5 separate regions of the Homo sapiens genome follow, and all the other regions are linked to region 1. The links are contacts of gene promoters, found by promoter capture Hi-C in blood cells and fetal thymus (Javierre and others, 2016). All regions are on one chromosome and are shown on one strand. The core of a region is centred on a gene start or on the middle of the fragment in contact, and the rest is flanking DNA. Distances in the headings are between cores, read along the strand shown.

Region 1 (2,531 bases), core at 13-2,512:
TGTCTAGACGGCCACGTGACGAGGCCGGAGCCGGGCGCGCCACTGCGCAGTGGAACCAGCCGAGCAGAGGGCCGGAGGGGGGGTGCGGGGGGGCGGGGAGGAGGCGGCGCGGCTGCGGCGGCTGGGGGCGGGGGAGGGAAGGGGGAGGAAGGGGGAGGGAAGGGGGCGGGGGCGGGAGGCCTTGCGGGAGGCGGTGAGCCCCGGGCACACTCGCTTGCTGCTCGGCGCACGGAAGATCCTGTCCCCGAGCCGCGCCAGCCGAGCCAGCCGGGCGCCGTGCTCGGTCCGCTCGCCGCGCGGGAGAGAGCTGCCCGAGACAGAGCCAGTCCGTCGGCGCCGAGCCGCCGAGCGCCCGGCCCCTGAGCCCCTGAGTGCGGCGCGGCGAGCCCCTGGCGGCGGCAGAAGGACCGGAGCGCCAGGAGAGGGCGGACCGGGGACAAGGAGGCTCCCGGGCGCGACGAGGAGAGTCTCGGAGGAGGAGGCGCCGAGAGGACACCGGGGCCTCCTGCCGCCGCAGCTGGGTCGAGGCGAGCAGCCCATGCGGGGAGCCTCGGCGGCCAGCCGCGGCCAGGGGAAGGGACATCGGCGGCCCCTGCACTAGCAAGCAGCTTGTGCCCGGGGGGGGCGAGAACGCGCGACCCGTCTGGGGCCCTCCGCCGCCGCCGCGCCACCCTCCCCCGCGCTGTCAGCCCCGCCGGGCTCAGCCGCCGCCGCAGCATCTTCTGCCCCTGCGCCCGCGCCAGCCTCGAGGAAGTCCCCGCCGAGGACCTGGGCCCCCAGGAGCGCAGGGGGAAAGACCAGAGACTCCCCTAAACCACCCAGATGCGCAGGATTGAAGCGGTCTAGCCAAAGCTTTCTGTGGATTAAAAAAATACACGATTTTTTTTTTTTTTTTTGGCAGAAGAAAAGGAGAGGAAGACCAGCGGGGCTTTGCAAGGAAACGGGGGGATGTAACTCGTGGATACATTTTTCCACCCATCAAACATCTTGTTATACTTTGTAAACATTTTCTTTTTTTAAACCCCAGTTCCAGCCGGACGCCCCCAGACCTCTGAGGTTCGAGGAGGTGGTGGTTTTCATTTGGGGCTTTGCATATTTGGTTGTTAGGTTTTGCGAGAGCCTTCTTATTTTGCCAGACGTCTCATGCGGGGTGAAGTCCACTCGGCCCCCTCCCCTGAGTCTTCGTGTGCGCGGAATTCGAGGAGATCCGGTTACTAAGGATATAGAGGAAAAAAATAAATCGCTTGCTTTTTTTTTTTTAATTGCCTGCTTCTCCCCACCCCCAAATTAAGTTGCTTAGCAAGGGGGAAAGAGGCTTTTTCCTTCTTCCAACAGCCCAGCCGAACGCCTTTCGTTTTTTGCCCCCGCGGACCTTCCATGTAGGAAGCCGAGGCTGGCGAGCCCGACATTCGGGAGCCACTGCGGGGGGGCCTCTTTTTGGGGAGGCGCCGACGGGGGCAGGCTCGGCCGTCCCCAGGGAAGCGGCGGCCGGGTTCCTCCGGGGCGCGCCGGGGCCGGAGAGCCGCGCAGGGCGCGGGCCGCGCGGGGTGGGGCAGCCGGAGCGCAGGCCCCCGATCCCCGGCGGGCGCCCCCGGGCCCCCGCGCGCGCCCCGGCCTCCGGGAGACTGGCGCATGCCACGGAGCGCCCCTCGGGCCGCCGCCGCTCCTGCCCGGGCCCCTGCTGCTGCTGCTGTCGCCTGCGCCTGCTGCCCCAACTCGGCGCCCGACTTCTTCATGGTGTGCGGAGGTCATGTTCGCTCCTTAGCAGGCAAACGACTTTTCTCCTCGCCTCCTCGCCCCGCATGTTCAGGACCAAACGATCTGCGCTCGTCCGGCGTCTCTGGAGGAGCCGTGCGCCCGGCGGCGAGGACGAGGAGGAGGGCGCAGGGGGAGGTGGAGGAGGAGGCGAGCTGCGGGGAGAAGGGGCGACGGACAGCCGAGCGCATGGGGCCGGTGGCGGCGGCCCGGGCAGGGCTGGATGCTGCCTGGGCAAGGCGGTGCGAGGTGCCAAAGGTCACCACCATCCCCACCCGCCAGCCGCGGGCGCCGGCGCGGCCGGGGGCGCCGAGGCGGATCTGAAGGCGCTCACGCACTCGGTGCTCAAGAAACTGAAGGAGCGGCAGCTGGAGCTGCTGCTCCAGGCCGTGGAGTCCCGCGGCGGGACGCGCACCGCGTGCCTCCTGCTGCCCGGCCGCCTGGACTGCAGGCTGGGCCCGGGGGCGCCCGCCGGCGCGCAGCCTGCGCAGCCGCCCTCGTCCTACTCGCTCCCCCTCCTGCTGTGCAAAGTGTTCAGGTGGCCGGATCTCAGGCATTCCTCGGAAGTCAAGAGGCTGTGTTGCTGTGAATCTTACGGGAAGATCAACCCCGAGCTGGTGTGCTGCAACCCCCATCACCTTAGCCGACTCTGCGAACTAGGTGAGAAGTTGTCCCCCTACCCCCAACATTTTCCGGAGCGCCAGTGCTGGAAGAAAAGCCCCTAGGGCAGTGCGTTTGTGCAGCCATCCCTCCAGGGGGAGTGTGCATACCCTCCT
Region 2 (2,531 bases), core at 20-2,519, 460 kb before region 1:
GTTGAAAAATCTGCTCTGTTGTAGAGGTGGGCCTGGGATCGCTGCTAAACCATCTTCTAAATTCTGTTTTAACTTTTTCTTTGTAGGTTTGCTTGGTTGGTGACCAAAATAATGTACTAGGCTGTTTTACTCAGGGAATAAATAATTTGAGACTTTTCTTGGCATCTTATTATATTTTTCAAATTGAGGGACCACAAGAAGTTCAGTTTTTACATCTTGAGTCAAAACCTTTATTTCCCATTCTTTCATTTATACCTTTCTATGCAAAAATCATTTTAGAAGATGCTTAAGTTTTCCCAGGATTAATCAGTCCCTTAAACTAAAAGCTTAAATGGGGGAAATATATCCTTTAAAGCATTAAAGTAAAGGGACATGTAAGTTTTACTGCAGGTGCACCCTTGATTCCTCTTCTTTCTCACTGTGTTGGTTGGAATTTTTTTTTTTTTTTTTTTAAGTCAATGTTTTTCTCTTTCTTGGGAAAATAAACACCGTATTATCTAGCATAGTAGTTGCTGACATTTTGACATTTTAATAGTTATATTTCCTTTCATTTTGGCAGTTGAATGACAGCATATACGATTGTCTGTGAATCACATGAATGTAAACACCTTTTTGGTTCTGCATGGGTGCGTTAAAAATTGCTATAATTTATATGCAGTTTTTGTCCTTTGACTTTTTCCTATTAATAGGTCCTCTTAAAACATTAACCTTCCCACAGTTTAACCACTGAATTGGCTGATTCTTGTTAGTTTTGTGAATGATTTCTGTAATTCTCTTTGCTAAGGTAAGGGGGAAAATGTCTTCAGAAGTGCTTCTGTCCTTTCCTGAATCGTTACTTGTTGATTTTTTCAGGTTATATCTTTGACTAACATTATATATTTATCAGAATTTGTATGTTGTTGGCTGAAATTGACATCATTAATATAAAATGTCAGTTTTGAAAGAATTTTATGGCGGAACTTTCAGCTGAAGGGACTAAGGATTTTCAGTGTTTATGTTATGAAACTTACAGTTTGATTGTTCAGCAAACCTGTGTTCAGAGGTCTGTTATAACTTCTCCCCCAACAATTTTTTTGCCTATCTGCTTTTCTTAAAAATATTTGAGCTATTAATTTCTCACTTTTCATTATTGAGATTCATATATGAGAACGGTGTGCCTAAAAGTAAAATAAAACCAGTCTAAATTACAGAAAACTGTGAAGTAGGGAATACTTAATTTAAAATTTTAGCTTCCCGACCACACTATAGTTTATGATTTCATAGCAGTTACAAGAAAGTCGTCTATCATCTTACCATTTTCCTTATTAGATTTAAAATTTTGTTTTCTTCCAATTCTTTATAATTCACATAATTTTTGCATGATTGGAATTATAATGTAGATATACTTTTTATAATAATTTATGTGTGACACAACTTCTTTTAGGAATATATAGAAATTCCAACTAGTTGCTGGAGTGTTTCTAGGTTGATATTATGTGGGTTTGCCTTAAGAGTATCTCATTTAATATTATTCATATTGAAAGAGTATTAATCTGGAAGTTAAATATGTTTATTCTTATACCGTGACATTGGACAAGTTACTCTGCTTCTCTATTTCTGTCACTTGTAAAGTGAGGATACTCCCATTTCCTCGGTCAACTTCTCAGGGTTTTTAAAAGAAATCAAATGAAATAATAAAGGTGAAAGAACTTTGAATAGTGTATATAGGCCTGTACAAAATGCAAGTTATTTCAGCAAATTTATTTGCATATGGACAATAATATGCTAACATCTTTAAACACATTTCTTTTGTAGAAGGTTAAATAATACTTTTTCTAAATCCCCTCTCCCTTGTCAAAATGATTTCTTTAAAGTATAACACAAAAGTCAGTTTCAACTCAATTTGTTTAATTTTAATTTTAATTTTAATTTTTTTGAGACAGGGTTTTGCTGTATTGGCCAGGCTGGAGGGCAGCTCATTGCAGCCTCCACCTCCAGGGCTCAAGGAGCAGCTGGGACTACAGGCACTCTACCATGCCCAGCTAATTTTTTTTTTTTTTTTGGTAGAGAAAAGGTCTCACTATGTTGTCCAGGCTTCAACTCAATTTTAGACAAACAGCCCCCAATCCTGAATTAGTAAATTTCAGATCAGTGAAGTCTGCTAAATGTATATAATAAGACTTTTTTTTTTTTTGAGGTTGTGGTGTTATTATACAACCAATTGGTAAGCTTTTCTTCTAAGAGTATATATTATTCAACTTCTTATTTTTTTTTAACCTTAATCCCTGAGGACCAACACCATGGCCTGGCAGTGTCCATTGGTACCTCTTATAATACTTAAAAATCCAGTGACTGGGTACTGTGGCTTATGCCTGTAATCCCAGTACTTTGGGGGTCAAGGCAGGAGGATTGTTTGAGGCCAGGAGTTCTAGACTAGCCTGGGCAACATAATGAGACTCCATTGCTACAAAAAAAAATTTGCTGGGCATGGTGGCACACACCTGTAGTCTTGGCTACTCGGGAGGCTGAGGTGGGAGGATTGCTTGAGCCCA
Region 3 (2,531 bases), core at 21-2,520, 290 kb before region 1:
GATGAAAATAAACCATGTATTAAAATACAACCCATCTAGAGGCTGTGTGTCAAGCTGACCTTCATCCAATTTTAATTTGTTTTCTTACTCAGGAAACTTTATTTTTCAATGTATATTACAGTTATAAGATGGTTGAAATACTCAGATTACTTTATGCATTTTTATTGTTATTATTATTTTTTGAGACGGAGTCTTACTCTGTCACACAGGCTGGAGTGTAGTGGCACTTCCCACTCAGTGCAACCTCCGCCTCCCAGTTTCAAGCGATCTTCATGCCTCAGCCTCCCAAGTAGCTGGGACTACAGGCACACACCACCATGCTCAGCTAATTTTTTTGTATTTTTAGTAGAGATGGGGTTTCGCCATGTTGGCCAGGCTGGTCTCAAATTCCTGACTTCAGGTGATCTGCCTGCTTCGGCCTCCCAAAGTGCTGGGATTACACCCGTGAGCCACTGCACCCAGCCCAGATTACTTTAAATTAGATCAGCAGTTCTCAGCCACAGTGGAATGGTGGGGTGGGGTGAGAGCAAGTGGAGTGTAACTCCAGGCAGCCTGTCTGACTCATCTTTGCAGAAAGACGCCTGAAGAACATGTGTGGTGCATGTTGTAGTGCTGGGAAAATGGTTGATAACTCGCAGCGTAGAAGGTGACTTATCGTAGAAACTGAATTTGTACATTATTAACTTAACGACAGTCGAAGCATAATTATTATAGAAGCCTCAAATGAGTGATCAGCTTTTTCCTTTTTAATTTGAAAAATTCGAAATATGTTTGAAGAGAATTATATAATGAAACTTTAGATTGTCAGCCCCTACCTTCGGCAGATATCAGTTCTTGACAAACTATTTCATTTATTTCCCCTCCTTTTTCTCCCTACCCTGGATTATTTGGAAGCAATTCCTGACATCATTTCATCTATCAGAATTGCATTATGTAAAGAGGTACATTTTTATGAATATCCATTTATTATTTGGTCCCTCTACAAGTGGTGGAGAGAAAAATAAAATCAGGTTACCACCATCTTCCAAAACATGGAAATTAGCCATAGTTTTGGTCCTTAGTCATTTAGAATCTGATTGAGTTCGGGGCTTACTCTATCACTCATATTGCTAGTCAGTGTTATATGGATGCTGTCTTATTTAATTATAAGTCTAGCCATCTATAAGGTACAGAATTTCTGTTTAATAGGTGAGGAAACTGAGACTCAGACTGAAACTTAGCCAAGGTCATGTAGCTAATAGTGTGGAGCTGAAATTGAAATCCAAGTTTGACCCTAGCGTAGAAATGTTCTTTTTGGCAGACCTGACATTGATAAAGCTGAAAAGGATAGGCAGACATCATCTACCTTATACCTGCACTCAGATTCTCAGTTGTGAGTGAGTAGAATGTCCACTATATAAAGTTTCTGTGCAGTCTTGGATCACTTCTGTGCATTGATTCTCGAAGTGTGTTCTGTGGGCCACAGAGAGTCCATGGAGTCTAAGCCTTTTATAATAAGACATCATTTGCCATTTCCACTGTGCTGACATTTGCATCAAGGGTACAATAGCAAAGTTGGGGTAAAACTGCTGAGACCTTAGCATAAATCAAGTGGTGCCTAACTGTACTAGTACTCACTATATTTTCCACAACCACACACACATTTGTGGTAAAATAAAAACCATCTTCACTGAAAAATGTCCTTGGCGAAATAGTAAAAATGATTAGTTGTTATAAATCTTGACCCTTGAGTACATCTTTTTGATATTTTCTGTTGTAAAACTAGAAGCTCACATAATGCACTTCTACTCCATACTGGGTTCCAATGATTGTCTTGAGGAAAAGCAGGTGTGTGATAGAGTTGTGAGCTGAACTAGCCACTTTTCTGATGGAATAGCATTTTTACACGAAAGAACATGAGACAGTCTTGGCAGAGAGGAAACTGCCAGTGTTGGTTGCCAATAAAAAAAATTTTCAAGTCAAAATTAAAATTTCGAAAAACTTATATTTGGCATCATGAGTTTGACAACTTCCTAATAATTTAGACTTTTGTTATAACATCAATGATGTTAGTAAATATGGATTTTAAAAACTATTATTTGATGAAATGTGTCAACATTTGGAAGATCTGCATAATTCAGTGAACCAATATCTCTCAAATGACTAAAGGGGCTTTTTCATTAACTGTATTAATGTTAACATGTAATGTGTTTATTATTAAATTTAAATGAATTAGTAAATATTTAATATTTTCTCAGTTTTAATATCTGTCAGTATAACTGACATATGAAAAAATTCTTTGGGGTTCTCATTAATATTTTTAAGAGTTGAAAGGGGCCCTGAGAAAAGTATAAGAACCAGCACTCTAATGCCCTTTCAGGATGAGATAGGTAGAGTGGATGTGAGCATGTCTGTATTACAGAGTTCAGTGTATATACTTTTAAATATCTACTATTTCTGAATTATACCTTCCTTCCATCAGTATAATCAATATTTAACTATATTTGTATTATTCATGCTTCCATTTAATAAATATTTATTGAGAACATAGT
Region 4 (2,531 bases), core at 19-2,518, 260 kb after region 1:
GGGCGGTGGAGGATAAGAATAGATGAGGGAGTGAAGAAACATTCCAGGGCTTCAGATCTGTCTCAGGCCAGGGGAGAGCTGGTGTCACCACTTGGGTCTGGGAGGGAGAGGGAAAGGGGAGACAGGAGTGAGCAAAGATGCTTGGACAATTTCTTTGAGGAGGACAGACTCACAAGAGAAGGAGTGGGGAGACAGGAAGACCAGACAAGGACTGGGGACATGAGCACCTGTTCCCAGCTAGAGAAAGGAAGAAGGAAAGACCTTTTAGGAGAGGACTGATTCTATCTGGTGCAGGTGGCAAAGAGTCACTGAGCATTGGGAGGCCTCGAATCTGGAACACTGGGCTGTGTGACTGACTGGAGGGAAATCTAGAATCTCAAGTGTATTCTAACAAACTATTTTGGTAACGACCCCTACAAAGTTATGTATGGGAAAATACAAAGCCCTTCAGCAAATATGTCTCCCAAAGGGAGGGAGAGAGGAAGAGTAAGCTATACACAGGCCCTGGAATTGTCTTCGGCACCAGAGGGCCACGAACACCCAGAGTGGCCCTTGGGCACAATCCCTTTGTTTCTAGACGTCTGGAAGTCAAGTGGATTCCCAGTTGAGTTGGAAATGCCGGGAGACTTTTCCCATACTACAGTGGACTGAAACAATGCCGGCAGAGTGGACGTTACAATTGTTTCCACTGAAGTTATTTTGGGGGAGTTTAGGAAGATTGTCTATTCCAAGACATTTCCTTCACCCGATTCCCTTTATAAAAATACCGAAGGAAGAAGCCTGTGTTGCAGCCACTCTGTCTGCCCTGCTCACAGGCACGTGCACCATGCTCGTGGTGAGTGGCTCCCAGTGGGCCCCAGGAGCTGCCGTGTGCAATACCTATTTACTGCTGCCCTCTCAGAAGCCCTTAGATTTGACTGGCACCTCACTGTTTTCAAAGAAGTTTCTCCATTATTGTCTTGCTTGATTCTCACTACAGCCTTCTGAGATGGTGGTTTGCAGGGAGGAGGTTTTATTATCTCCATCCTAGATAGGAGGAAATGGGGAAGTAAAGGTGCTTGGTCAAGTCCATGCAGCTTGGAAGAGGTGGAGCGGGGCAGGCTCCTGTGTTCCGGCTCTGGGAGGATGCCTTCTGGGTCCTGTGCGTGTTGCAGGGTGCGCCAGGGCTGCTGAGAGAGTGTTCCTTAAGTGTTTGTGGACTACTTTCCACAGCCAATCCCCGAGCCAGGTCATGATGGATCAGCCAGGAGAAGACAGACCTGGCCCTTCTGTACTCAGGGCTCCACAGCTAGTCCAGTGTGCTGTTACATGGGGTGCAAGATAGGGAAAATGTGGGATGCAGGGTTGGAAGGAAATGCAGGGGCTGGATTGGGATGACCGTGCATGAGAGGAGCTTGTCTTCCACGTGATGGAAGGCAAGGACAGGCTGGAGCAAATCAGGAAACTAGCTAGATGTGTGCACTTTGTAGGTCATGCTAGAGGTGACTGGATTTAGGGGATTTAAACCAAACCCAGGGCAGACTGGTAAGGGGCTGTCACAACAGCCAAGGGGCAAGGAGGACTAGCGGAGGAGTTAGGGAAGCCATAGTGGATGGAAGGAGAGTCTGTAAACGCCCAAATAAAATAAAATTTAGAATGAAATTGATGAGTTTTGGTGAAGGACGGGGTGGGGTGGAGATGGGGGAGAGAGTGTCACCTATAAGAAACACAATGGCAAAGAAGACATGAGCCCTGCTCTGAGGAATCCTACCTTCTTATAGGACAGGGAGAAAATAAGGCTGGGCATGATCAATTTCAAGATGACAGAAGCTACTGAACTAATGTTTTATAAGTTAGGATCAAGTCCTGGCTAACTGCTTATTTTTCTATGATGTAAGTATCTCACAGACTGGGGAAATGGGATAAGTCTTTAATACCTTAGGGCAGAGGGGCTCAGCCATGACTGCAAGCCAGATTCACTCGGGGAGCTTTACAAGTGCCTCATGCCCAGGACCCATTGCCCAGAGAGTTAACTGCGGCAGGGGAAGGTAGTGACCTTTTCTTCCCTGAAAGTCACCTTTGCACTTAGCCCCTCCTGGACAGCAGGAATCTCTCTCCTGTGTACAGTGACCTCTGACTCACAACAACCTTGAGAATTCAGCTCATCTGCGCTGGCCTGGGGCTTGAGTTTGGCTCAGTGCAGACTGAAAGGGGCTGTGTTATATGGACAACCATGAAGGCTCCTTTCAGGTGGGCCCTCCTATGACCTCGTGACTCCATCCTCCTGAAGAAATAGAATGGAGGAAACTTGCCTTCTTGGCTGTTAGACATTACCCTTCAGCGGAGGGTTCTCTGTAGCTGAAAGGTTCTCAACTCAAAGTTTGGCCTTCTAGAAAATGACTTAGTGACCCAAGCCTTCAATTCAAGCTGCAGCATGTGAAATCCACTTAAAATGAGAGCGGGCTGCTGCTTCTGCATGCTTTGAACAACCCCAGGAGGTGACTCGGCCACTCTGTCCTCATAGATTTGAGTTATTTTTATGACAATATCAG
Region 5 (2,531 bases), core at 11-2,510, 260 kb before region 1:
TGTTATAATTTTATTATTAAAGTACTGAAAAATACATTATTAGAAAACTTCACCTTGGAATCTTTTTTAAGCATTACTCTTTTGCTTGTGGTTTTTGTCATCTTTTACAGACTTGAATGTTGTTCTAGGACAGAATATTGTTGTACTTTATTTTAGTGAAGCATAACCATATCAAATAACATTTCAGAACTATACATTGCACAATCTTGGACATTTTCTTGTAAGAAGGCACTAAGGAAATTTTATTTTTGTGAAAGTAATTCTTAAGTAACAGTGACTGTTTTTTATGGGCTAGCTCCAGACCACATTTGCCTCCTTCCCATGATCTTGTTTTTCTGATGTCCCAAGCTGTAAGTATAGAGGTCAGAATGACATTTTAGGGCTCTAGGTTTGAATCTCATAATCTTAAAATGGATATTATTCAGTTTATCAAAAAGATCAGTTCTATTTTTTTTTTCAGATTAAAAATAAATTAGGCCGGACATGGTGGCTTATTTCTGTAATCTCAACACTTTGGAAGGCCAGGGTGGATGGATCACTTGAGCCCAAGAATTTAAGACCAGACTGGGCAATATAGTGAGACCCTGCCTCTAGTAAAAATTTTAAAAATTAGCTGAGTGTGGTGGCACACACTTGTGGTTCCAGCTATTTGGGAGGCTGAGGTAAGAGGATCACTTGCCTAGGTAGTTTAGGCTGCAGTGAGCTATGATTGTGGCACTGTACTCCAGCCTGGGTGACAGAATGAGACTGTCTCAAAAAAAAAAAATTAGTTTTACCAAAAATAGTGCAAATAATTTTCATTTACCTTTAACTCACATTCCCAAATGTTAAAATTTTACCACATTTGCTTTACTATTGTGTTTGTCTCTTTTTTTTGAAATGGTTGAGAATAAGTTTACAGACATGATGTCCCATTGCTAAGTACTACATGGTGTATTTCTTAAAAATAAGGATATTTTTCAAAATCAGGAAATTAACATTGATAAAAACTATTTTAAGTAAAAAATGCCTTTTTTCTCCTCCAAGTCAGGAATCTAATACCAAAATCATGTTACATATAGTTGTCTTCTTTCATCTTTTTTAATCTGGAATGGTCCCTCAGTCTTTCTTTGTCTTTTATGGCCTTTAAAATTTGGAGAATACAGAACAGTTTTTTGTTTATTTGTAGAATGTCCCTCAATTTTGGTTTGCTTGATTTTTTGGGAATTAGATTTTGGCTATGCTGTGATCATATCAGGAGCCACATGACATCTACTTGTTCCATTACTGATGTTAATGTTAACTGTGATCCCTTGTTTAAAGTGCTGGTGATACACATTTTTCAAGAATATGTTTCTTGTATTTTAAGTTTTTGCTCTCTTTTGGTAGATGGAGTCCTAGAATCCTTTCCAAGACTCAATAGAAATATCTCTTTAAATATAAGCCTACTTTAAAAGATTTTTAACTACTCTGTTTTGGAGATTAACAGCTTCTTAAGACTTTCTCTATTTCAGAGGAATTTTGTTTTGTCTAATAATCTGTCTCCTGCTCTAGGTTGTAAGCTCCCTAAGGGTAGAGATTGTGTGTACATCATTCCCCACCCTGTCTTCAATGCCCAGCACTATTCCCACATGCAGTAGATAGTAGTTACTGCTTGACTGATTGGTTGTTTGATAGGCTGGTGGTTGAATGGATGAATGGATTGTTCGTTTGTGGAAATTTGCCCATTTCAAATCTTCTAACTTACTAGTTTTGAGTTCAACATACTTTAAAAATTACCTATCACCCTCTTGGTATTAATACTTTGATATAGTTTTGATGTAGTTCTTCAGACATGATTCTCAAGGACTAATAATAGCCAAGACATATCAGATATGTTCACTATTGTGTTGATTCACCTTGTCAGATTGATTTTACATTCTCTTCTCTCTAGCTTGCTATTTTTAAATGGCCTGAAATGTGGCGTCAGTGAAATTACTCTGACAATAATAGTAATAATTCTTATTGGTCCTCTTATTACTTTATTTTTTGTAATATCACTTTAAAATCTTGGAGCGGTTTAAAATTTTTTACTATGTTGTTCGCTTATGGGTTTGAGGCTTAGAGAGATCATACACCCACTATTATAAAGCTGCCAATGGGTGAGCAGGATTTAGATTTCTAAGTTTTGTCTTTCTTTAAAAAATTTTATTTTTGCAAGCACTTTTCCAAAGGATTTCTAAGTTTTCTGACTCCTAATTCAGTGTTCTCTCTACCATAATCTCTTCCATATTGTAGTAGTATTATTGCCTACTTGCCAGGAACATATTCCTAATACCGTGAAGAAAAAGTATTTTGTATCACTTTGTTCTACCAAGGCGTATTTTATGTGGTTCACTAATGACAGCCTCATATTTTGAGACTTTTCTCCCAGTGAGTATGCCTTTTCTCCCCTAAATAGACTTTTTAAAGAGCAGTTTTAGGTTCACAGCAAAAGTGATCAGAAAGTATAGAGTTGCCATATATCCCCTGGCCTCCAACCTCCCCCACTATCAACATCCTGTGCCAGAGTG

The links. Contacts are between HindIII fragments. The CHiCAGO score rates a contact against its expected background, and 5 or more counts as called.
Region 2: a contact is called between a fragment that was not itself captured here and the fragment with the promoter of SMAD7 in region 1, in 3 of 17 cell types (non-activated CD4 T cells, total CD4 T cells and activated CD4 T cells). The highest score is 6.1, in non-activated CD4 T cells.
Region 3: a fragment that was not itself captured here is called in contact with the fragment with the promoter of SMAD7 in region 1 in 1 of 17 cell types (M1 macrophages); the score reaches 7.5 in M1 macrophages.
Region 4: a fragment that was not itself captured here is called in contact with the fragment with the promoter of SMAD7 in region 1 in 4 of 17 cell types (M1 macrophages, endothelial precursors, M2 macrophages and 1 more); the score reaches 9.8 in M1 macrophages.
Region 5: a contact is called between a fragment that was not itself captured here and the fragment with the promoter of SMAD7 in region 1, in 1 of 17 cell types (M1 macrophages). The highest score is 6.7, in M1 macrophages.

What each region holds. Positions count from the first base shown.
Region 1 is chr18:48,949,696-48,952,226 of GRCh38, reverse strand. SMAD7 (SMAD family member 7) reads left to right here and starts at 1,262. Exons shown (of 4, transcript NM_005904.4): 1 at 1,262-2,415. The coding sequence starts at 1,803. RefSeq lists silencers at 89-788, 2,005-2,324. The HindIII fragment of the contact is 3,263 bases long and covers 855-2,531 here.
Region 2 is chr18:49,410,158-49,412,688 of GRCh38, reverse strand. The region is part of intron 2 of DYM (dymeclin); the gene reads left to right. Among named protein-coding and RNA genes, the nearest start is that of DYM, 49 kb to the left of the region's middle. The HindIII fragment of the contact is 1,882 bases long and covers 329-2,210 here.
Region 3 is chr18:49,240,063-49,242,593 of GRCh38, reverse strand. All of the region lies in intron 13 of DYM (dymeclin), which reads left to right. Among named protein-coding and RNA genes, the nearest start is that of MIR4744, 190 kb to the right of the region's middle. The HindIII fragment of the contact is 3,396 bases long and covers 1-2,531 here.
Region 4 is chr18:48,689,301-48,691,831 of GRCh38, reverse strand. All of the region lies in intron 6 of CTIF (cap binding complex dependent translation initiation factor), which reads right to left. All of the region lies in intron 1 of LOC105372107 (a long non-coding RNA gene), which reads left to right. Among named protein-coding and RNA genes, the nearest start is that of MIR4743, 20 kb to the right of the region's middle. The HindIII fragment of the contact is 6,421 bases long and covers 1-2,531 here.
Region 5 is chr18:49,210,741-49,213,271 of GRCh38, reverse strand. All of the region lies in intron 13 of DYM (dymeclin), which reads left to right. Among named protein-coding and RNA genes, the nearest start is that of MIR4744, 160 kb to the right of the region's middle. The HindIII fragment of the contact is 4,430 bases long and covers 1-2,531 here.